7 separate regions of the Homo sapiens genome follow, and all the other regions are linked to region 2. The links are contacts of gene promoters, found by promoter capture Hi-C in blood cells and fetal thymus (Javierre and others, 2016). All regions are on one chromosome and are shown on one strand. The core of a region is centred on a gene start or on the middle of the fragment in contact, and the rest is flanking DNA. Distances in the headings are between cores, read along the strand shown.

What was found. Contacts are between HindIII fragments. The CHiCAGO score rates a contact against its expected background, and 5 or more counts as called.
Region 1: a fragment that was not itself captured here is called in contact with the fragment with the promoter of ELF4 in region 2 in 2 of 17 cell types (activated CD4 T cells and total CD4 T cells); the score reaches 6.7 in activated CD4 T cells.
Region 3: a fragment that was not itself captured here is called in contact with the fragment with the promoter of ELF4 in region 2 in 2 of 17 cell types (activated CD4 T cells and neutrophils); the score reaches 5.6 in activated CD4 T cells.
Region 4: a contact is called between a fragment that was not itself captured here and the fragment with the promoter of ELF4 in region 2, in 7 of 17 cell types (neutrophils, naive CD4 T cells, activated CD4 T cells and 4 more). The highest score is 8.9, in neutrophils.
Region 5: a contact is called between a fragment that was not itself captured here and the fragment with the promoter of ELF4 in region 2, in 8 of 17 cell types (total CD8 T cells, non-activated CD4 T cells, monocytes and 5 more). The highest score is 8.7, in total CD8 T cells.
Region 6: a contact is called between a fragment that was not itself captured here and the fragment with the promoter of ELF4 in region 2, in 11 of 17 cell types (neutrophils, total CD4 T cells, activated CD4 T cells and 8 more). The highest score is 12.2, in neutrophils.
Region 7: a contact is called between a fragment that was not itself captured here and the fragment with the promoter of ELF4 in region 2, in 2 of 17 cell types (total CD4 T cells and naive CD4 T cells). The highest score is 6.9, in total CD4 T cells.

Annotation. Positions count from the first base shown.
Region 1 is chrX:129,686,854-129,689,877 of GRCh38, reverse strand. No RefSeq gene overlaps it. Among named protein-coding and RNA genes, the nearest start is that of APLN, 33 kb to the right of the region's middle. The HindIII fragment of the contact is 3,434 bases long and covers 1-3,009 here.
Region 2 is chrX:130,108,763-130,112,173 of GRCh38, reverse strand. It overlaps ELF4 (E74 like ETS transcription factor 4), which reads left to right and starts at 1,677. Exons shown (of 9, transcript NM_001421.4): 1 at 1,677-1,849. It also overlaps a transcript of RAB33A not described here. RefSeq lists silencers at 946-1,065, 1,136-1,185, 1,196-1,245, 1,496-1,645, 1,726-1,795. The HindIII fragment of the contact is 7,600 bases long and covers 1-3,411 here.
Region 3 is chrX:129,793,792-129,796,829 of GRCh38, reverse strand. SASH3 (SAM and SH3 domain containing 3) reads right to left here. Exons shown (of 8, transcript NM_018990.4): 8 at 1,629-3,038. The coding sequence ends at 2,998. Among named protein-coding and RNA genes, the nearest start is that of SASH3, 15 kb to the right of the region's middle. The HindIII fragment of the contact is 5,726 bases long and covers 1-3,038 here.
Region 4 is chrX:129,634,743-129,637,913 of GRCh38, reverse strand. No RefSeq gene overlaps it. Among named protein-coding and RNA genes, the nearest start is that of APLN, 19 kb to the left of the region's middle. RefSeq lists a silencer at 143-312. The HindIII fragment of the contact is 312 bases long and covers 1,708-2,019 here.
Region 5 is chrX:129,772,526-129,775,842 of GRCh38, reverse strand. No RefSeq gene overlaps it. Among named protein-coding and RNA genes, the nearest start is that of SASH3, 5.8 kb to the left of the region's middle. RefSeq lists enhancers at 353-402, 2,396-2,695. The HindIII fragment of the contact is 4,423 bases long and covers 1-3,317 here.
Region 6 is chrX:129,614,475-129,617,579 of GRCh38, reverse strand. No RefSeq gene overlaps it. Among named protein-coding and RNA genes, the nearest start is that of APLN, 39 kb to the left of the region's middle. The HindIII fragment of the contact is 7,528 bases long and covers 1-3,105 here.
Region 7 is chrX:129,662,451-129,665,713 of GRCh38, reverse strand. No RefSeq gene overlaps it. Among named protein-coding and RNA genes, the nearest start is that of APLN, 9.1 kb to the right of the region's middle. The HindIII fragment of the contact is 3,664 bases long and covers 1-3,263 here.

The sequences.
Region 1 (3,024 bases), core at 43-2,542, 420 kb after region 2:
TCTTGAGAAGTTCTTCCTGTCTCTCTTCTTTTTTCTTTTTTTAGACGGAGTCCTGCTCTGTCTCATAGACTGGAGTGCAATGGTGCAATCTCGGCTCACTGCAATCTCTGCTTCCCGGGTTCCAGTGATTCTCCTGCCTCAGCCTCCCAAGTAGCTGGGATTACAGGCATCTGCCACCGCGCCCAGCTAATTTTTGTATTTTTTTTGTAGGGAAGGGTTTCGCCATGTTGGCTAGGCTGGTCTTGAACTCCTGACCTCAGGTAATCCACCCACCTTGGCCTCCCAAAGTGCTGGGATTACAGGCGTGAGTCACCATGCCCAGCCCTGTCTCTCTTCTTGTCTGCTCACCACACAGGTAGGAAGGACAAGCTCTAGGTTTTATACTGCAGAGGTAGGGAAACTGAGGTCAACTGGAGATTGGGAGGTTTGTCTCAGATCATGAATGCATCAAATTAGCCAGAAAGCTGGTTCGGGGACCCTGGCTTCCTGATTCCCAGCCAAAGGCTCTTGCCAACACATTTTACTGCCACCTCTCATCTGACTGCCAAGGCCTTCTGCACAGAGCCTCATCTGCCCATGTGCCTACCTTGGAAGAGACATTGCACAATGAACATAGCTCTGTCCTAGCATTTATGGCCAGAAGCTATGTCACCCTGAGGTTCTGAGACCCTGGAAGAATGAGGAGGATGTTTCAGAATCTAGATGTTCCACCTGGCCAGGTATTAGGGCCCAGATGTGGAAACCTACCCACTGGTCAGATTGGCCCTGACCAAATGTGGAGCAACTCTTTGGCCTATCAAACATGTAAGTGTCTGCTTGCTATGAATAAGGGAAAACTGCTGCTTGTTGTGCTTATGGAAGCCGTTAGGGAAACTTTAAGAGGTGGGACTCCAATTGGGGCCTGAAGGCACTGGAGAGGAGAGAAGGGCACCCAGAGTGAGGGACCAGCTGACAGCTGCAAGCAAGAAAGCAAAAGGCTTGTCTGAGGTTCAGCTGAGGGAAGAGCAGGAAGTAGGATTGGTGTAGTAGGGAGTATTTTCCCACAATTGCTGTGACAGTATCGTCTGTTCCGCATGAGCGTATTACAGTATGACTTTGACACTCCCCCATTGAGATGTAGGGTCTATGTTCCTTCTCCCTGAAGCTGGGCAGCTTTGTGACTATGGCAGAAGTGAAGCTAGATGACTTCCAAGGCGAGGTCGTAGAAGAGGATACAGCTTCCACTTTGCTTGCTGGAATAATCACACTTGAAGCCATGAGCCACCCTGTGATTGGTTTGACTGCTACCATGCTGTGAGGAAGCCCAAACCGACTCACATGGAGAGATCATGTGAAGATCTCCGAGACCACATGAAGTGAGAGGTGTCTGGCCTGTCCCCAGCTGCTCCAGCCCCATTCTCCTCACCCCATACTGTTTTAGCTCCAGTCACTCCCTGATTACAACCTGATGAGGGACCTGGAGCCAGGACTACCACCTGAGCCCTTCCTGAGTTCCTTACCCACAGAAACCATGAGAGGTAATAACATGATTGCTGATGTCTTAAGCCACCAAGGTTCGGGGTGATTTGTACACTGCACCATTCGTAGCTTCTGTAAATCAATAAACACAGTTAACATCACAGTAGCCATTATTTGAGTCCAAAAGTCTCACCACCTCTCCAAAACCAGTGGGGGCGTTCAAAGGTTCCTTAAGCCCCCTGTCTTCTCTAGGCAATCATTTATAGACTAGACATTCAACATCACAGAATATGCTCATAAAACTCCAATAAGGCATGCCTGTAATCCCAGCACTTTGGGAGGCTGAGGCGGGCAGATCACGAGGTCAGGAGATCGAGACCACAGTGAAACCCCGTCTCTACTAAAAATACAAAAAACTAGCCGGGCGCAGTGGTGGGCACCTGTAGTCCCAGCTACTCGAGAGGCTGAGGCAGAAGAATGGCGTGAACCCGGGAGGCGGAGCTTGCAGTGAGCTGAGATGGCACCACTGCACTCCAGCCCGGGTGACAGAGCGAGACTCCGTCTCAAACAAAACAAAACAAAAAACAAAAAACAAAAACAAAAACCAAACAAAAAAAACTCCAATAAGGGCTGGGCACGGTGGCTCACACCTGTAATCCCACCACTTTGGCAGGCCAAGGCGGGAGGACCACCTGAGGCCAACATGGTGAAATGGAGGAGAATCTCTTGAACCTGGGAGGTGGAGGTTGCAGTGAGCCGAGATCGTGCTACTGCACTCCAGCCGGGGCAACAAAGCAAGACTCTGTCTCAAAAAAAAAAAATGCATGGATGAAGACAGAGCTGGGAAATCCTCTTCCTCTTTTTCAGCTGAATGGAAGGTGAACACAGAGGAGATGAATAGCCCCCAAGCAAATACCTGACAGGAGGGGAAGTGGGAGTTTGGGTAAGTCAAGCAGACAGTCTACTGATCACACTGAGAGCTAAAAGCTGCAAGGATACCAGAGGCCCCTCCTGGTTAGAGAAAGGGTTCTTCTGGCACTTCCCACTTCAGATCCATCCATCTTCTTCTGCCCAAAGAACCGTCTACTTACGCAATCTCTCCATTGTGTCTTTCCAGTGGAATATTTAATGCTTTCTCACCTCCGGAACAAACCCACAAGGCCTACCATTTTGATCAAATGTAGGTGGGATTAGGCTCTAGCCTTGTGTCCATTGCTCAGATGTCAGAGGCCTCAGAGCATTAATCACCACAGGTAGCCAAGCCTGGGGGGAAGAGGCAGGTCAAATGCTCTAGTGATTGGGCCCTTTATGGGTCTGCCCATGACACCTGACCTGGGTCCTGTTCTAGAACCATTAGTTGTGGAGAATTTTGGTTATATGATGCTCTTACTGCAGTGCAACCTCCAGGCTGCCATTCCTTTAAGGGAGAGGTAGCCCCAGCACTTGGCTTGGGATGGTCTCTTAGGGAAACAATGGGCAGGCTGGTGCCAGTGGGGATGGGCTAGGTTTGCTTCTTAGTAACAAAGAGAGCATTTAAATGGAAAAGAAGCTTGGGGGGCCCTCTGG
Region 2 (3,411 bases), core at 428-2,927:
AGTCCAGCCACAGGATCTTTCCTTGGGAACTTGTAATCTGCAGCTGCCTTTGTGGCCATCATCCACCACCACTCCTGTCCCCCAGTCCTGCGCCTGAGATGATCCTTTCCCAAGGCAGGAGAAGCAGGCCGATGCTGGAGGCTGAGTAGGTCCTTCAACCTCAAGCCCTTTAGAAGGCCCCATCCCCTGGGGCTCCTTCAGTCTTGATGCTTTCTGCCAAGGCTTAGGCCTTGCTGCCCCCACCCCCAAAAAGGCCACGTGGAACTATACAGAGTAACAATTCCCAGCGCACTCTCTCCAGAGCCTCCTATCAGCAGACCCACGTAGGCGGCGGTATTGATGTTGAGGCAGGTCAGAGAGGGCAAAGGGGAGATAGAAGGGGAGCGTGCCTGAGTGGCTTTCAAGTGGGCGCGTGGAGCAGAGCAGCCTGGCTTTGGACAGGGGAAGAAAGGTAGGCATGGGCTTTCTTCCAGCACCCGAACTCTGGCTCTCTTTGCACTTGCTGGGCCAGCCCCTCTCCCCCTAGCCCTTCCCCTGACTCATATCTTGCCAGCGTCCCCCACCCCAACTTCCCGCAGGAGTCCTAGACTCGACTTCCCTAAGAAGTCGCCGAAACTCTCCAGTCACCCCAGGTGTTACGCCCAGGATTCTGCGGAGTCGGGCATATGGTTCCAAAATTGTATCCTCTGGGCATCTCGCGGCCTCACCCGCCGCACGGCCCGCCCTCCCGCTGGGGCCTGCACACCCCAGGAGCTCAATAATGTGGAGCGCAGGGCTTGGCCCAAAGGCGTCAAGCAAGTCTCCACTTGCACGGGCCGAGGGGGCTGGACGAAACCTTCCCGAGTCCGCGGGGAAGGGATTTCTCTGCGGGGCGTTGTATGGGGGCTTCGCACCGGGAAGGGCGCGGAACGAGCAGAGAGCTCGGAGTCTCGCTGGCTAGAAGCAGAGTGGGGAGCGCCCGCCCGGGCCGCGGCGCACGACGCGGGCTCTGCGGGCGCCCTGCCTCGTGGTCCCCCGGGCGCGAGCGAGCCGCGAGGGGAATGAGAGGCCGCGCGGGCCCCTGGCACGGCTCCCCATGCCGTGCTGGCGACCGCGGCGGGCGGGCCGGGGCGGACGGGCGCTGTTTCCACCGAGATGCCTCGTCCCTCCCTCGTTCCCTCCCCCACCCCGCCCGCCCGCAGTCCCTCCCGTCGGTCCCTCCCTCCGGCTCTTCCCTCCCTCCCGCCCTGCCTCCTTCGCGCCCGCCCCATCCGCCGCCTGCGGGGACGTGTGTGTCTCTACTGCATTTCCCCTTTCGCTCGCTCGTTTCGGTGCATGTCTGCGCCGGTTCGCGCCCCCTCCCCGGGCGCCCCTGCCGCCCCGTGTCTTGGCCCGGCCCTCCCCGGCGTCCGCCCCGCTCCCCGCGCGCTCCACCCCGCCCCCCGCCCCGTTTTATCAGGGGCGCCGCCGTCTCACCTGGTATTTGCATCTCTCCCTCCAACTTGCCATTGGCGGCGCGAAGTGTGGGAGAGCCCTGCGCCTCGCCCGCCCGGACCAGCCTGCCCCGGCGCCGAGGTGAGTCACGGGCGCGGGGTGGCGGGGGCAGGCGGGCGGGGAAGAAGGGCGGGCGGGGAGGAGGGCGGGGGACGGCGGCCCCGGCGGCCGCGGGGACCGACCGGGCGCCGCGCTCAACTTCCACTTCTCCTTTCGCCGGCGCCGAGTTCCTGGCGCCGCTCGCCCGGCCCGGCTTCCGAGGGGAGAGGACGGGCTGGCGGGGCTGGGGACCCGCGTCTCGGCCCCCGGAGCGGGGACCACGGAGACAGACCCCGGCCCGGCGACCGAGCTGGGCCCGTGAGCCACTCGGCCTCAGGTACGTCGATGGCGCCGGTTCTTCGAGCCTTGGGGGACGTGGAAAAGTTTGCTTGAGGGCGGAATCGAGAGCGCCGGGGCCCCGGCGTGGGGCTGGGGGCCCAGGGAAGGGCGGGAGAGTCGCGGAGTGTCGCGAGCCGCCCTGGAGTCGCCCCGCCGCGCGTGTGATGGAGAACCCGGGCTCCCGATCCCGGGATGGAAGTGGAATGGATTCCCCGAGTCGGGGAGTCGGGGTAGGGGCCCCTGTTTTCCCTCGCCCCCGGCAGCCTGGGTTCCGTGACGGGGCCGATCATGACAGCGGGCCCCCAGAAGCTGGGCGCCCGAGGGCAGAGGAGGTGGGGCGGACCGCGGCGGAGCTGCTAGATGGATCCGACTGCCCCCGGGGCTTCTGGGGCCAGGGCTTTAGGGTCACACGCACACACGCGCACGCAGACCTATGATGTGGAGAACTGGATCGCCAAAATAGAGACCTCTTGGCAGGGGCCGGAGTTTCCGTGTGAGCCAGCCGCCAGCCTTCCCGCTCCCGCGTTCCCGCTCTCCCCGACTCTCCCGCCTCCGGGTTCCCTCCTGGGCCGCCGCCTAGGGGATTCAGCAGCCGCACCGTGCGGGGTCCCCTCACGCCAGCGCCTTGCTTTGGAGGCTTGAGGGACTGCTGAGGCGGTGACCGCTTTATGAATTCCTGGCTCCTCCACCGCACCCTAACCCTGACTCCCTTTTCTCACCACCGTATGCCTGCACATCACCTTCCTGACCAGAGTCACCTCCTGACCCCTTGGCACCTCGGCTCAGCGAGGTCCTCCTGGGCCGCCCCCGCCCCGCACCATACCCCAGCTGAGGGATTTGATGGCCATTTGATTCCTGCCCCTCATCCCTCGGCCTGTGATAGAGGCCTGTCTGGTCCTGCAGCCTCTTCTGGTTAATGTTTGACAGTTCATTGTGGCTAATTATTTTAATTAGCTCTTAAAGTGGGAAAGAACAGTTAACCTTGGACTTCTCGATTTTGGCCTGGTGGGGCCTCAAATGGGAGGAGTGCTGGGGAGGTGGGGAGGTAGGAGCGGAAGTGAGGTCACCACCCCAGGGCCTGAACCACCACTGCTCAGCCCCAACAGCTGGTGGGCACGCCCATTGGGGACTCACCCCCTGCCAGCTGACCCCTGGCCCGAGTGCCAGGTTGGAGGTGGGTGAAGGGAACAGTTCTAGCTCTTCCCTTTGGGGAGACTTTGGCACTGAAAATGCCCGGGGAACACATATGCCCAGCAAGAATGCCAGTCCTTCCTTGCAGTTAGTTACACTGGGTTTTCCTGGTTATAAAGTGCTTTCTCAACCATTAATTCAGATTCAGTGCATCCAGTACAGGAGCAGCGTAGGGGGAGCTCTCTGGAGTTCAGTGAAGATTATCAGGGAGGACTTCCTATCCCAGCCAGCTGGTGTGAGGAAGAGGCTACCTTGCATCTGGTTGTTTTTGGGGCTGGATTCAGAGCCTGGGATCTCTTGTTGGGGGCAGGGGTGGGGGGGACCATGAAGCAGGCTCCATGCTACCACCCTCACCCAGCCTCTTGCTGT
Region 3 (3,038 bases), core at 527-3,026, 320 kb after region 2:
AAATGTTTATACATTATTTGTGTAATTTTCAAATTTGAAATTGAAGGCTGGGTGTGGTAGCTCACGCCTGTAATCCCAGCACTTTGGGAGGCTGAGGCGGGCGGATTGCTTGAGCCCAGGAGTTTGAGACCAGCCTGGGCAACTGGGCAACATAACTACACTTCATCTCTACAAAAACTAAACAAAAATTAGCTGGGTGTGGTGGCGCATGCCTCTAGTCCCAGCTAACTCAGGAAACTGAGGTGGGAGGATCACCTGAACCTGGGAATTCGAGGCTGCAGTGAGCTATGATTGTGCCACATCACTCCAGCCTGGGCAACAGAGCGAAACCCTGTCTCTAGAAAAATAAATAGAATCAAAGAATAAAAAAACACAAAGATTTTCCTCATGTTATTAAATATTTTTCTACAACATCATGTGTCATGGCTGCGTGGTATATGAACAAACCATAAAGCATTTAATTCCCCATTTGCATTGTTTTCAATTTTTTACTATTACAGACAGAGCTGTTGTAGATATCTTTGTCCATAGGTATTTGTGCACTTATGTGGCTGTTTCTGCACTTATGTGGCTGATTAAATTCTAGAAGGGAAATGGCTGGGTCAGAGAGTCAGCTTGCCCTCCAAAGTGCCCAGGACTTTTGAATGCTTGTTGGATGAGGCCTTTGGAGAAGCATTGTAGCATAGGAGTTAAGAACATGGGTTCTGCAGTCAGGAAGACTCCTGCTCTGTTACTTTCTAGTCAACTTCTTCAACCTCCCCAACCCTCAGTTTCCTCCTCTGTAAACTGGGATGATGAGGGCACCCACCTCAGGGGGACACTGTGAGGATTACAGGAGATGCTATATGTAAAGTGCTCAGTGCCTGGCACAAGTGGAGGTGCTCCTTAAATGACTGCAATTATTCAGTACCCTTGGGGCTTTGAGGCTGTTAGGGCTCTTATATCTTTGGTGAGGATCATGCTTGCAGTTTCCTGGCACCCCCAGTCACTAAGGGTGGTGGGATGAATGCAACTGAGAACAAGGCCTGGAAGTCAAGTGGCCTCGTCCTCACTCTGGTGGCAGCTCTCTCTCCAGTAACCCCCTTCCCAATGCCCAATGCAGTTAATTCTGGCAGAAACAGAAAGGAAGCTAGAGGTCTTCATCTCCATCCTACCTCCCAGGAGATGGCACTGCTTTAGTGGGTACAGGGTGGGGGCCAGGAAAAGGTGACTTCAGAGGAAAGGCCATGCTGACCCCAAATCTCCCCCTCTTAGATCCTGGACAGCTCCTCAGTGCAGGCCTTTCTTCACACGGGTGAAGGTCTTTAAGGGCCCTGTTAAAATGAACAGTTATTGGATGAGGGAAATAGCCATTCCCCCCTACACCTCTTGGACCCCAGCAAAGCCCGTGGTCATGGGAGCTTGAGCCTTGTTCTGAGGAGGGCTGGTTAGAGGGGAGGGCAGAGCCAGCTAGGGCTTCAGACTGGAGCTTTAGGTCAGCAGAGTCAAGGGCACTGAACATTTAAGGGAAGGGAAAGATGGACCTGAAAGGACAGTGAGGGACACTTTGCTGAGGCCAGCTTTGAAGGAGACCGGTCTGCCCCTCCCCACAACACTCTCTCCATAGAAAAGATAACTGGAGACGGTAATTTAGTTCTACCCATGTTTATTGCTACCAGCTGGTCTCCCTCCACCCTCTCATATTTACACCCAACCCCTTCCCCAAAGCTAGCTTTTACCAAAGTTCCTGGTAGGAGGTCAAGAAGTGTGTCCACTTAGCCGGCAGTCCTAGATGTAGTGGACGCTGTTTGTCCCCAGGCCAGTTGGGCACCAGGAAGGGCTACTCTGGGGATTCAGGGCATAGACTTCGTACTGGGGTCAAGGGAGGCCCCCACTCACAGATACTCTCCTTTCCTTCTGGGGCTCAATGTACACCAAAACCTTCAGAAAGCAAAGTTGGAGTGGTGGACCCCCAATGTCAAGTTTAGTGCTCTCTTTGCTTGTGAGGACCCACACAAGTGGCCAACTCTGGACTCAGATCCACAGCTGGCTTCCGAGAGGCAATTCTGTCCTTGGAAGCCAGGTTTGACCATCTGTAATCAGCCTTGTGAGAAGTCTCGTTTGAGGGGGCCAGGGATGGAACGGGAGGGCGCATATCGTATGAGGTATGGGCATTGTGTTAAGCTGGGGGAAGTTGCAGCTTGTCCTGAATTACATGGAGAGGAATAAAGTGGGTGAGTAGGAGGAGCCATTTCATCTGAAAGCCTGAGGCCCCTCTGGTCCCCTCGATAAACCCCACTGGTGTCCCAGGCCACAGGTAACAGGAGAATAGACATTTAATGTCACAGAATGTCAGAGCAGGCAAGGCCTTCAGTGATCACCCTTTCTAACCCCAACCCGTCCTAAGCCTAGAAAGAGGAAGCCACTTGGTTCAAGTCTCATAAGATTTAGTGGCCAAACCTCTAAGAAAGCTAGGGAGAAGGAAAGTGGGAATGGTACCTGTGGATTTCTTCAGGCCTTATTTAGGGGAACTGGATTTACCCATGGTCAGTTTGGGTTCTTTTAAATGGCCAGCTTCCCTAGGGTTTTTAGACTGACCTGAAACATTGACTTGGCCCCCTTTTCAGGAGCAGTGCGACAGGGGTAGGTGGTGTGGGGGTGAGGAGGATTTGGAGGCCTTGTTGGTGAGGGACATGGGCAGGGTTTCCCAGTGCCCCACTTGCTGTGGCCGTGGCCATGGCAGGGGAGCAGTTGGTGCCAGGAGGGGCTGCGCTGTCAGTCGCTGGTGGAGGGCGGGGCTCAGGCAGGTGGGATGTGCCCTTGGGCGACTCCCCAACCACTCCAGCTGAGCCTGGAACCTGTAGGGCCCTGGCCTGGCCTCTGTGGCCCTAAGTGTCCCTGGGGAAGCAGGGCCAGGCTCAGTGCCAGTCCTCAGGACCTGGGCCACCACGGGAGGCTGGGCCCACTCCTACAGCCTTTGCAGCTGGGTCCCAGCCTTGGCCTATTGCCACCGCCACCTCAAGGTGCCCCGGCCAGGGAGAGGCCTTGCAGCTGCTCCT
Region 4 (3,171 bases), core at 614-3,113, 470 kb after region 2:
GATAACTTGCCCCAGACTCTATCAATTCACCAGCTGAATATGAGGGGCTGAGAATTCCTCACCCACAGGAGTGGCTGGCTACATGCATCTGGGTCAGCTTGATGGCCGGACACTCTGGAAACTTCTTATATGTTTCCCTTTCTTTGCAGTCGGCCTCTCTTTCTTCTCCAAGCCTGCTTATTCTTTGGGGGAAACCCAGTGTGTCATGAGAGGCTGCCCCCTGCTGGCTGAGTCCTGGAACTGCAGGGACTTCTTCAGGCTTGCGTCAAGTCTAGGCACAGGCCATTTTAAGAAAGTTCCCGAGGTCATCTCCTCTTTCCTGTTCTGCAGGAGGTGTGAGAACGAGCAAACGCCAAAGTGTGTGTAGAGGAGTGGCTGACTGGCGTTCATCAAAGACGACTTTTTTAATGGGGGCAGCTCTAAAATTGCTTCTGCTCCAAGATTCTGAGTCTGAACAATTTTGTGGGTGTGCCCCACTGACTTGAGAGGATGCCTCTACAGGTCATGGGCATACGTGGGCTCCATGCATGTGCTTGTGTGAACACCGAATGGGTATGCATATTTGCTCCACGCTGTGTAGCATATTATAGTCCGTATGCATGTTCACTGAGAGAGGGAGAGAAGTTGCCACCCAGAGGCACCAGGGGTGAAGTCTGTGAGGGCAGAGGGCAGCATCTGGGTCTCCAAGGCCAGGCCAGGCCCCATTTGCATCCTTACAGGACTGTCCTAGGCTGTCTGGCCCTCGAGCTGTCCCAAGGAGCTCTTCCCTCAGTGAACCCCATGTTCCCACCAGTTTTCCCCCTACCAGATACACCAACCCTGCCCACCCCCCCACCACCAGCTGCTGTGGGAAATCTCATACCTTCTGGTGGCCATAGGCAGATCTGATTCCTGCGTGTGCTCATGGGACCTCTCAGGGAGCAAACCCTCCCTTCACCCGGCCCCTGCCAAGGCCCACATCCAGGGCTGCTGTTTTCCTCTATCTGGGCTGGTGCATCCCTATAGCGTGTTTCTGGCCAGCAAACATTCTAATCAGTTGGTGTCCAGACCTTGCTGGCTATTAAAGATTTTTCACTATTGCCCCTGTCCAATTCCCATACTCCCAGGTAACGTGTGCATTTTAACCTGGAGCTTCATGAGGCCATGAGTTAGGGCGTTACTCTTGTTCTCAGGCAAAGTTTTTTTTTTTTTTAAACAATCCTTTCTCATTGCTCCTCCAAATGGCATGAAAACACTAGCCCACCTTGCTAGTCTCGGCAAGCAAAATCCCTTGGTGAGGCCATGAGCCATCCGTTAAATACTTGAGCTATTAAGTTGAAAGCAGAAGTGTCAGATCACAGTTGAATGACCCCCTTGGACTTTGCCCAAAGGGAAAGCTTTCTGAGTGAGCTCAGAGGGATGGGAGCTCTGGAGGCTCCAAGTTCAGCTCCAAGTGAGTGCTCACACGCAGGCCGAGCCTTGTCCTTTGCCCATGGGTGGAGCACACCAGCCACTCCCGCCGCATTTCTAGGAAATACCCCCTTCTGCTCCCTGGCTTTGGCCTCAACTCCTCCTTGCAGAAGTGCAGACAGTGGAAAGCTGATTTTCATAGGTTATTGTCATGCTGGGCTCCTCCTCCGCCCAGCCCATGACTTGCTCCTTCCCAACTGCTGTCCTCCCCTTATGGCGGCCCTGGGGACTGTGAGGTGGTGTGACAGAGAGAAAGCTTCCATCCCAGTTGTGCCACTTGGTAGGTGAGCCACTCTCCCGCTCTTAGCTTTACTTCCCATTATCTATCACAGGGGATGGTAACTGTGCCCTTTGCTGTTGTCTTTAGGCCCAATTGAGACATGGATCCAAAAGTACTTGGAAAGGAAAACTATTGCTGGAAGCACGCAAGTGGTGATGAGCTCAAAGCTCAGAGGTGCTACCCTCAGCCAGCTCTCTGGTCAGCACAGAATCTTACCCTTGCCAGAGTCCCTTTCTGATTTTCCGTGTGCAGGAAGATTAGTGACCCATAGTCATATAGAATCCCAAGCTTGTCAGGGACTTTAGTTGGGCCATCAAGGGATAATACAAGCTACCATTTCTTGAGCAATTATATGTTAGGTACTGTTCTAAGTGCTTTATATATTATACGCATTTCATCCCCACAACAAGCCCATGAGGAAGAAACTCTTATCATTCCCATTTACAAATGAGGAAATCAAGGCTCAGTATGATTAAGTGAATTGCCCAAAGTCACACAGCTGGTAAACTGAGCCAAGATTTGAAGACTGGCTATCTGGCTCCAGAATCTGAGCTCTGAATCATTGTGCTCTGCGGGCTCTACATGGCCCTCACTGAGCAGGATTTTTTGCCTCTGCTTGTACATCTCCAGTGATGGGGAGCTCATTGCTTCCCAACGTAGCCTGTTCTAACTTCACTTAGCTGTGGCTGCTGGAAACTTCTAGCATGTCTGGCCAAGCCTTTGGTGATCCAGACCACACAAAGATCTGTTTCCTGAAGGCTTAAGCAGGGGATAGGTGAAAAACAGGAGGCTACAGAAAGCAAGTATTCTCCCTGTACCCCTCGACACACAGAGACCCCCCGATTCCATTCCTTTGGGCATGTCAACTCCTTTTCCTCCAGTGGAGGTTGACACAGGAAGTAAGATGGTCCCCTCCACCTCAATATACTTTTCAATTGAAGAGAGTTGGTGAGCCCACCTGTTTGCTCCAGTTAGAGCCTCGGACATACGCAGTGCCCACTGTATTAATGAGCGTGCACTAAATACTGAATGAACGAATGAATGAATGAATGGGCATGTGAATGAAGAACAGGCTCACAGCCTCCTTTCCTGCCAGCCTCAGTCTCCTGGAAGAGTTAGTTTTGCACTGTGCTTTGAGATCCTGACAAGCAGCATTTCCATGGTAACGAGGCATAGACCTGCCAGTCTGCAGGGCCAAATTCTTTCCTGTCACATGGACTGTTAGCTCGCTCCGGAAAAGATCCTAAACTACTGTCAGTGTATGCAGAGCAGGTCACTGTCAGCTGGGAGACCCTCAGAGTAGGCACTGCTGGGCAGATCTCCCAGTGCCTATCTCCTCTGGGAACTTCCCGGACTGATCGACCTTACTGGAGTTTCCATGGTAACAACACTAGGCTAATGGGTTGCCAGGGTGATGGTGTGCTACTGCTAAGATTGCATGG
Region 5 (3,317 bases), core at 25-2,524, 340 kb after region 2:
CTCCCACCTCAGCCTCCCGGGTAGTTGGGACTACAGGCACGTGCCACCATTCCTGGCTAATTTTTTTTTTTTTTTTTTGCCTATGTTGTCCAGGCTGATCTTGAACTCCTGGCCTCAAGTGATCCTCCTGCCTCTACCTCCCAAAGTGCTGCAATTACAGGTGTAAGCCACTGCACCCGGCCCCCAAAGATTCTTATTTCCATTCCCCCCAGTCCCCACATCTAGCTGAAAATTATTATACTTCATGGCAGGCAGTGGGCTTTACAACAACCTGGTAAGTCAGGCACTATTGTTATCCCCATTTTCCAGGGAGGAAGCTGAGGCCCAGAGGAGTTAAGTGAATTGCCCACACAGCTAGTAAGCAGTGGAGCCCAGCGTTAAATGCAGGTCTGGTCTTGGCCAGGGCCCACACAACTAACCACTCAGCTGAAGTGCCTCTGATGCGGAGTTCCTGAACGGGGAGGTGAGAGAATTATGGAGCCCTCGGCTTGCAGCCTTCTCTTGGCACCTGATGCTGGTTTGGGTGCCACACTAGGTGCCACAGAGCCACCTTGAAGCAGGCCCAGAGGGGAGTGAACAGGATGGGGAGGACATCTGGAAGTCGCATCACATCTGCAAAGCTGCAATAGCTAGGGTCGATTAAGCGGGGGTGAAGTATAGGGAAGTCGTCAACGTGTGAAGTACTAAACTCCTGTCACATTTAGCCTAGGTGATTGGGGTGGGGAAGCAAGTGGTATGAATGATGGGGAACAGATAAATGGAAGGTTTTAGTATATTCCAAGGAACAAATTTTGGCTATTCAGATGGCACTAGTTCAGCTCTGGTAAGTAATGATCTCCCCATCTCTTGAAATATTCAAGTAGGCCGGGCACGGTGGCTGACACCTGTAATCTCAGCACTTTGGGAAGCCCAGGTGAGTGGATCACCAGAGGTCAGGAGTTTGAGACCCGCCTGACTAACATGGTGAAACCCGTCTCTACTAAAAATACAAAAATTAGGCGGGCATGGTGGCACATGCCTGTAATCCCAGCTACTTGGGAGGCTGAGGCAGGAGAATCGCTTGAACCTGAGAGGTGGAGGTTGCTGTGAGCCAAGATCACGCCACTGCACTCCAGGCTGGGCAACAAGAGTGAAACTCTGTCTCAAACAAAACAAAACAAAACAAAACAAAACAACCAAAAAAAAAAAAAGAAAGAAAAAAAGAAAAGAAAAAGAAATATCCAAGCAGAGGCCACATAGTTTCTTGAAAATACCTGGACATTTCCAAGGTGAAGCCCACTTTAGTAGCCCGGCCCATTAGCAAATTTAATGGTGGTCATTTTAGGCAGGGAGGGCAGAAAGAGCAAAATTGCAGGAGGGAGAAGGCGGGCAGAGGAAAGCAAGGAGACAAGGGCAGGTGACTCTTGCGCCCATTCCTCATGCCCACATACAACACACACAGAGTGGGCATCTGGTGGCAGGGGCTGATGGGAGGGGAGGGAAAGACAGTGATCTTTGGAACTCTGAACTCGTGATAAGGTCTTGGTTTTAAAACAAAACAAAACAAAAAACACCTGCTGGTAGCTCTGTCAATTACCATCAGAAGAGGAGGCTGGACTTTGGTGCTCAGATTAAAACACACTCATGACTCACTGGTGGGGGGGTGCACTTTCTATGGGGGACAAGTAGGGGCTGGGCTACTCTGCATAAATCTCTGTCCCAAGGTTACAAGGACAAACCTCTCTGATCAGTGGGCCCCTCCCCCATGGGGACAATTGTCCAGGGCTCCAGGGAAGAGGAGGAACAGAACACCTCTCAGAAATGGAGTCAGGTTGTCCTGATTGGATTCAGATTGTTGTATGGTCACCTACTGGCTGCATAACCTTGGGCAAGTGACCTCACCTGCAATGAGCCTTAGTGAAGATGGTAACAGTGATAATGTGGGCCTTTCTTGTGGGTGTGTGTGACTAGGGTTACTACTCAGGTGACATGCATAGAGGGAGTGCTCTCAGCCCAGTGCCCCAGCTAGTGGAAAGTGCTGGGTACCTGGTGAGTGACTCCACATCAGTTCACTTCAGACTCCACCTGGAGTTTCTCCCCTTGCTAAATCCAGGAAGGCCTTGGTGACCGTTAGGAGCTGCCGCTTTCTCCCTTAGTGTCCCCTTGGAATCTTCTTCTTCTTCTTTTTTTTTTTTTTGAGACAGAGTCTCACTCTGTGGCCCAGGCTGGAGTGCAGTGGCAAGATCTCGGCTCACTGCAGCCTTCGCCTCCCAGATTCTCCTGTCTCAGCCTCCCGAGTAGCTGGGATTACAGGCGCCTGCCACCACACCCAGCTAATTTTTTGTATTTTTAGTAGAGACAGGGTTTCACCATGTTGCCGACCATGTTGCCAAACCAGGCTGGTCTCGAACCCCTGACCTCAGGTGATCCACCCACCTTGGCCTCCTAAAGAGCTGGGATTATAGGCGTGAGCCACCATGCCCGGCCTGGCACCTGCTTCTATGTCTCTTGAGGTCCGCATCTGAATCTCTGCTACGTGACCCTGTGGCCCATATCCTATGTCTCCACCTTGTCAAGAGTGCATCCCTCACCCCAAGTTGTTCTAGAACACAAGAGGTGTGACAAACAAGAGGGCCTGAAGCTGCCTGGGACCCGCTGGGAGAGAAACCAGCTTTTCAGCTTCGTGGACTTGCCACGGACCACTGGGGCTTTCTCAACCACCCATCCTACCCGACTTAAGCTGCTTGCTCAGTTCCTGTTTCACAAAGAAACAAGGAAGTGAAGAGATGGGCCGGCCTCTGGGCAAAGGCTAGCTGGCTTGGGGTTTGGGGAGCACCTCCCCCTCCTGGCTGTGACGAGCCATGAGGAGCAGGGACGGACAGGGAGGAAACGGTTGCTACTGAATCTTTCGCACTTCTATATATATATATTTTTTGGTGCCAAGAGTGCCCAACCACTGATTTGAGGAAGCACCCAGTGAGTTGGTAAAATTCACTGCTGACGTGGTTTAGCTGGCTGAAGAGTAGCCAGCCCAGCCCCTTCTGAGGTCCCAACTCACACACAGCTGGAACCAGCTGACTGGCAAACCAGCAAAGGCTGAGTTAGTTATCATTTTAAAAAATGAACTATTGTCTCACACCTGTAATCCCAGCACTTTGGGAGGCCAAGGCAGGAGGATTGCTTGAGGCCAGAAATTTGAGACCAGCCTAGGCAACATAGACATCATCTCTATAAAATAAAAATTAAAAAAAAAATTAATCGGGCATGGCGGTGCATGCCTGTAGTCCTAGCTAATCAGGAGGCTGAGGCGGGAGAAGCACTTGAGCCCAGGATTTCAA
Region 6 (3,105 bases), core at 300-2,799, 490 kb after region 2:
ATTTCTCAGTTGAACAACATCAAAGGTCTTCTTCTAGCTTCCCCGCCCCCCGCCATCTTAAAGGGACTGTGCTGCTGAGAGGAAGCCATTTGATGCTGGAAGCAAAGCAATTTCTGGACTTGGCATCCTCACCTGTCTTCAGCCTGAGTGAGAAGCAAAACAGGCTTGTCCCGCAACCCCCAGCAAGCAGTGGCACAGATCCCAAGGCCTGGACCCTCAGGCTTTTCTGCTGGTGGATGTATATCCACAGGAGCCAACAGGGCCCAGTCCTGGGAGAGCAGCCCTAAGACAGCAGTTCTTGCTGAATGAGATCTCAGAATTGGAATGAAAAGCAGGAGAGGCAACATCACCAGCTTCCAGGATGAGCACATTTATCTTGCAGATAAAATAACTGAGACTCAGAAAAAAGGGAGGAGGGTGACAAAGAGACCCCAAAAAAGGGAAAGAGAGTAGAGGAGGGGAATGGTGCGGAAAATAAAGGCTAAAAAGAGAATAGAATGGGAGTTGGAGGAAAAAGGCTACCCCTATGGCCTCTGCAACCTTCTGGCCAATGGTTCCTCTATGCCTTTCTTCTGCCCCCAGCCCTGACCCCCACTTCGCATGCTCCACCTCTCACCTGGGCCTAATGGACATCTTCACTCCTCATGGCACATGGGTCTCTGCTTCCAGCCATCAGACAGCTGAGCACATCCCCCTGGACCCAGGTTGGAGTCTGCCACCCCATCCCAATCCTTCTTCTCCTTTGAGATTCAGCTCAAGTCTCCCTTCCTTGCTATGGCCCTCACTGCCCTTGCCCTCTTCTTAGACAGCATAGAGCTCAGACTGCATAGTTTAGCACTGGGCTGTGTATCGAATGCCACATGGGTTTCCCCACTCCCTCCTGCATGAGATAACACAATCCATCAGGCAAGGCAGAGGCCAAGTCCTGTCCTGTCCTCTCCTCTTCTTCCAGTGGGCCACGCCCTGTGGGCGAGTGAGCTATATTGCTATGATCCAATGAGCTTCCCCTTCGCCATGGGGATCCACTGACCACTAAGGCTAGTAGTGACTGAGGACATAGATTGGGGAGTGTGTGAATGAGTGTGAAAGAGAAAGGGGCCCCAAAATAATAGGAAGAGTCTCTGACAGGGAGGGGAATCCACTTCCCAAGAAAAGGTAGAGAGTGATGATGCCTTGCCAACCGCTGAGACACTGAAGAGGGTAAACAGAAGAACACTGACCCAAGGCTGGGCACCGTGGCTCATGCCTGTAATCCCAGCACTTTGGGAGGCCGAGGCCAGCAGATCACCTGAGGTCAGGAGTTCAAGACCAGCCTGGCCAACATGGCGAAACCCTGTCTCTACTAAAAATACAAAAATTAACCGGGCGTGGTGGCACATGCCTGTAATCCCAGCTACTCGGGAGGCTGAGGCAGGAGAATCGCTTGAACACGGAAGGCTGAGGCAGGAGAATAGCTTGAACCCAGGAGGCAGAGGCTTCAGTGAGCCAAGATGGCACCACTGCACTCCAGCCTGGGTAACAGGGGGAGACTCCGACTCAAAAAAAAAAAAAAAAGAATTCACTCAGAAAAACGCTGACCCAGATCTCCACTGTGTCCAGACCAGCCCACAGAGCAGCTCCTTGCCTTGGTGCTGAGCCCTCCGTCCCAATGCCCTGTGGGGCAGGCCCGGCACTCAGCACTCAGGTGACATTCTGGCAGCGTGGGGCGGGGGGCATTTGTGAGGGTAAGGGTATGGGTGTTGCACCCATCTGGTGACACTCCCTGGCCTGAACCCCACTGGGTCCCACGCCAGGGCCCAGGTGCTTGCACACTCAGCTGCAAGGTCCCTTGGATGAGGTGACTGCCTTGGGGCAGCCACATGTGGGTGAGGAATGGAGCCAAGCTGGGCCTTGTCTCACTCATCTTTGAGTTCCTCTTGCTAACTCTGCCAGCACCTAGCACTGTGCCTGGCACACAATGGGTGTGCAGTAAGCCCTGGCTAATTAATAGTAATAGCAGCTGTCATTTATGAGACACCTACTGTGTGCCAGGCATGGTGCTGAATGCCTTTCAAAGATGATCTCATTTAATCTTGACAACCTTACAAGGAAGGTACTGCATTTGAGTCCCATTTTACAGATGAGAATAACACTCAGAGAGGTTACAGGTAGCTTGTCTAAGGTCGTATGGCAAGCAGATGGTTGGGCTAATATTCAAGGTCAAGTCAATGTGATGCTAGTAGTCAGGCTGGTAACCCCATGCTGTAATGTTGAATAAACGAAAGAACAGGAATCCATGACTGTGACTTCAATAGCCTTATGCTCAGAGCAAAAGACATATGAATCCATGAAATGTGAGGGTCTGAGATACAGCCCCCCTTCCATTGTGTGTGTGCACATACCCCTCCCCCCGCACACACACCTTGGGCTTTGAAAGCCATCTTTTTGGTGCAAACATTGCAACCTCCAGCAGGGAAGTGACGCTGCAATGCAGAGCACAGGCTGTTGCGGATTGGAAGGGGAAGGAAGGCCTGTGCCAGGGCTGCCTTCACACTAAACATAGAAACCCAGAAGGACAGACAACAGCTGAGGTCCTCAGCAGTGCCTGCACCAGGAAACTGATAAGGTTCTGGGGAGAGGGTTTGCCCCTTTGAGAGTTTTGGGAGCCTCTAGTGGCTCTTTGACTGTCCCCTGTCCCCAGGAGGGGCATGGGGGTGGGGTCATTTCAGCACAGCAGCTTTCCAAGCCCAGGAGGGATGAGTGGGTGCCCTTGGGCCCAACTGCTTGTGCCAAGCCTCACCCAATAGCCGACAAACACAAGCAGGCTCAAAAAGAAGAGGAACATCTAGGGCAAGCCAGGCCAATGCCTCAGGTCTCACATATACTAGGGCCTCAAGCTGGACTACTGGAAATGCCCTCACTCCCTTCAGAGCTTTGCTCATGAGTTACTTCCTCAGTGAGTCCTGCCCTGGTCACCCTATTTAAAGTTGCACCCAACCCCCACTCTCCCTATTCCCCTTCTATGCTTTATGTTTCTCTAATAGCATTTATCATCAAATGACAATTTTTACTTATTCATTTTCTTTATTTTCTGTCTCGCTCTATTATATCATATGTACCATGAAA
Region 7 (3,263 bases), core at 461-2,960, 450 kb after region 2:
TCCTCCTGCTACCCCTAAGTCGTGCACAGTGCACTTCCCACTCCCCCAGAAGAATGGTTACATTGGCCAGTATTGTAATGATTCCTCAAATTAGTAAGGCGTTTCATGGTTTATAAAGCTCCTTCCCTTTCATTCTCTTGTTTTGATTCTTATTCAACCCTGGGAGTGAAACATTGTTTTCTCATTTTTTAGAAGAACTTGAGGGAGCAAAGCACAGATGTTCAGACCTATTCATTCATTCATTCATATATGCATTGATTGGGAAAATGATTGAACACCTACTATGAGTTAGACACTGGCTAGATGCTGAGGACACAGTCATGAAACCAGACAGCCATGGCCCCTGCCCTTATGGAGTTCAGTCTAGTTGGACAGTGAGGGGTGGATGGGGTGAGCCAGACATTAACTGAACACAAACTGAATTGTGAACTATGAGAAGCGATTACAGGGGAATTTCAGCCAGTCTGAGGGCCAAGGAAAACATCTCTTGAGGAGGAGTGATTTGACATTAGAGATGAGCTGATTGATGATAGGCATTAGCCAGGAGAAGACAGGGTAGAGCAGAGAATCATTCAGTAGGAGGAAAAAGTATTGGGAAGGCACTGTGACAGGAGGGACATGGCATTGCAGATAGAAAGAGGATAAGAGGCAAGAGAAGAGGCTGGCGAAGTGGGTAGGGGCTAGATTATGCAGGGCCTTGCATGCCATGGTTAAGAGTTTGGTCTTGTCCTAAGAGCCATGAGCCACAGAAGGTTTTCAAGCCAACTGGCATAACCATTCTGGTTGCTATGGAGAATGATGTGTGAGGAATGACAGGGCTGGAACAAGAATAGGGCAGCAGAAACATAGAGACGTGTAGATTTGACAGATATTTGGAGGTTAAATTGGCAGAAAGTTCATGCTGTGTTGATTCCAGCATGCCAGAAATGTAAATGGAGGTAGTGGGGTGTAATGGGTTGAACAGTAGCCCCCGAAAAGATATGTCTATGTCCTAACCCCTGGAACCTGTAAATTTGACACCTCATTTAAAAATGGTCTTTGCAGGTGTAAGAAGTTTAAGGATCTCAAGAGAGACATACTGGATTATCCAAGTGGGCCCTAAATCCATTGCTGACAATCTTTATAAGAGTGAGGCAGCCACGCCTATAATCCAAGCACTTTGGGAGGTCAAAGTGGGAGGATCACTTGAGGCCAGGAGTTTGAGAACAGCCTGGGTAACACGGCAAGACCCGTCTTTACAAAAAAAATAAAAAATAAAAAATCAGCTGGTTGTGGTGGTGCTTGTAGCTACAGCTACTGAAGAGGCTGAGCCAGGGGGATTGCTTGAGGCCAGGAGTTCTAGGTTATGGTGAGCTATGATCACACCACTGCACTCCAGCCTGGGCAACAGAGTGAGACCCTAGAGAGGCAGAAGGATATCACATAGACAAAAGGGTCAGGTCATGTGAAGATGAAGATGGAGGCAGAGATTGGAGGGATGCAGCCCTAAGTCAAAGAATGCCTGGAGCCACCAGGGGATGAAAGAGGCAAGGAAGAATCCTCCCTTACACTTTCATTTTATCTTTATTTATTTTTAATTGACAAATGATAATTGTGCATGTTTATAGGGTACAATGTGAGGTTTTGATCTATGCATACATTGTAGAAAGATTCAATCAAACTAATTTACACATCTATCACTTCACTAATTTATCATAAACTTCTCACCCTAGAGCTTTCTTGATTTCAGATTTCTGGCTTCCAGAAGTGAGAAGAAATAAACTGTTGTTTTAAGCCACGAAGTTTGTGGTAATCTGTCATAGCAGCCCTGAGAAATTAACACATGGAGTTTTGCTGTAAGATGGCTAGTTTTCTTTCTTTTTTCTCCAGAAGTGTTACCTTTTAAATTTTAGTACAATATTTGACTCTCTCTTTATGTGTATGGGAAATGTATGAAAGTCAAAAAGTAAGAACCTCAAAAGATCTCAGTCTGTGGCCATGGTTAGGATTCAGGTAGTGACTGGTGTCAATCCAAACTTGAGTTTGGGATAGAACAAAGCTGACCTCATTATCTCTCTGACTTTGACCTTATTATCCCAGAACTCTAAGCCCATAACGGAACTGGTCATAGACTCAATACCGTGTCCTCAACAGTCTTTGCCCTGGCTCTGCAAACAAAGGTGCCAGATTTGAGACATATAATATCTTACATGATATAAGCCCAGATAATATTAACCAGCAAAGCAAGAGGAAGAAAGGTTCAATGGACTTTGGAGATAAACCTGCTCCTTTGGGAGTGGCTATCCTAACTCACAGGGCCTTGCTGCGTAAGGAAGGAATTCACATGCCTCCCCTGGGAGACCAGGGTATTTATAGACCGTAGGGGAGAGGAAGGATGGAGGCTCCTGGGAGACGTCATAGAGGATATGCAGAGGAAATGAAACTGCTCTGAAAGACAAACAGGAGGAATGGGGACCTGTGTGGCTATGGGAGAGGATCAGAAGGAATGAAGCAGGATGTAGGGAAAAGGGGGTAATTCTGTGGAGCTGGGCTGGGCTGGGGGCAGGAACAGAGGAACAGTTCTTCACCTCAGAGAATCTCTCTTAGGACTTATTCAGCTAATAAACTGTGAACCCTTCAAAGACATTTGAAATATAGCTGATTATCTGAATTCCACTGACAACATTTTTCAGGAACTTGGGTGTTGTGTCAAGGAAGGCGTATCTGTGGGAACCCCTGGTGTTCCTTGAATATATCAGACGATCTGAGAAGGTATGTAGTTTGCAAAGAAGTTGGAAGAAACAGAGAAATGGAATAAGCATTTCCAGGGCAGTTGGAGCCCATGTGGCAGTGGCTGAAAGGTGTCCCATGGAAGGAATTAGCATGTAGTGACTTGAATATAGTATTAAACACTTGAGATGTGAATAGAGATAATGTGGTTATGCTGCAAAATGGCTACTTCTCTAATTTTTGCAAACCTGATACCGTGTGATGGTTAGTATTTGACTCTGTGTGCTTGGGAAGAGGGCAAGTGTGAAAGACAAGATCTCGGTCTGTGGCCAGGCTTAGGACCTAGCTGGTGATCAGAATTAAGAGGTATTGGACATCAAGACAAGAATCACACAGTTAGCTGAAGAAGAAACCCCAGCAAAGTCCAACAAAGAGATTATTCCCTCAAAATGATTATTAGGATCTTTTGATTCACAGAATAAGTTCCAGGCTAAGTTTCACATAATGAACATCATGTCTCTGATTTAAATGGTCTCACACCCAGAATGGGAAAG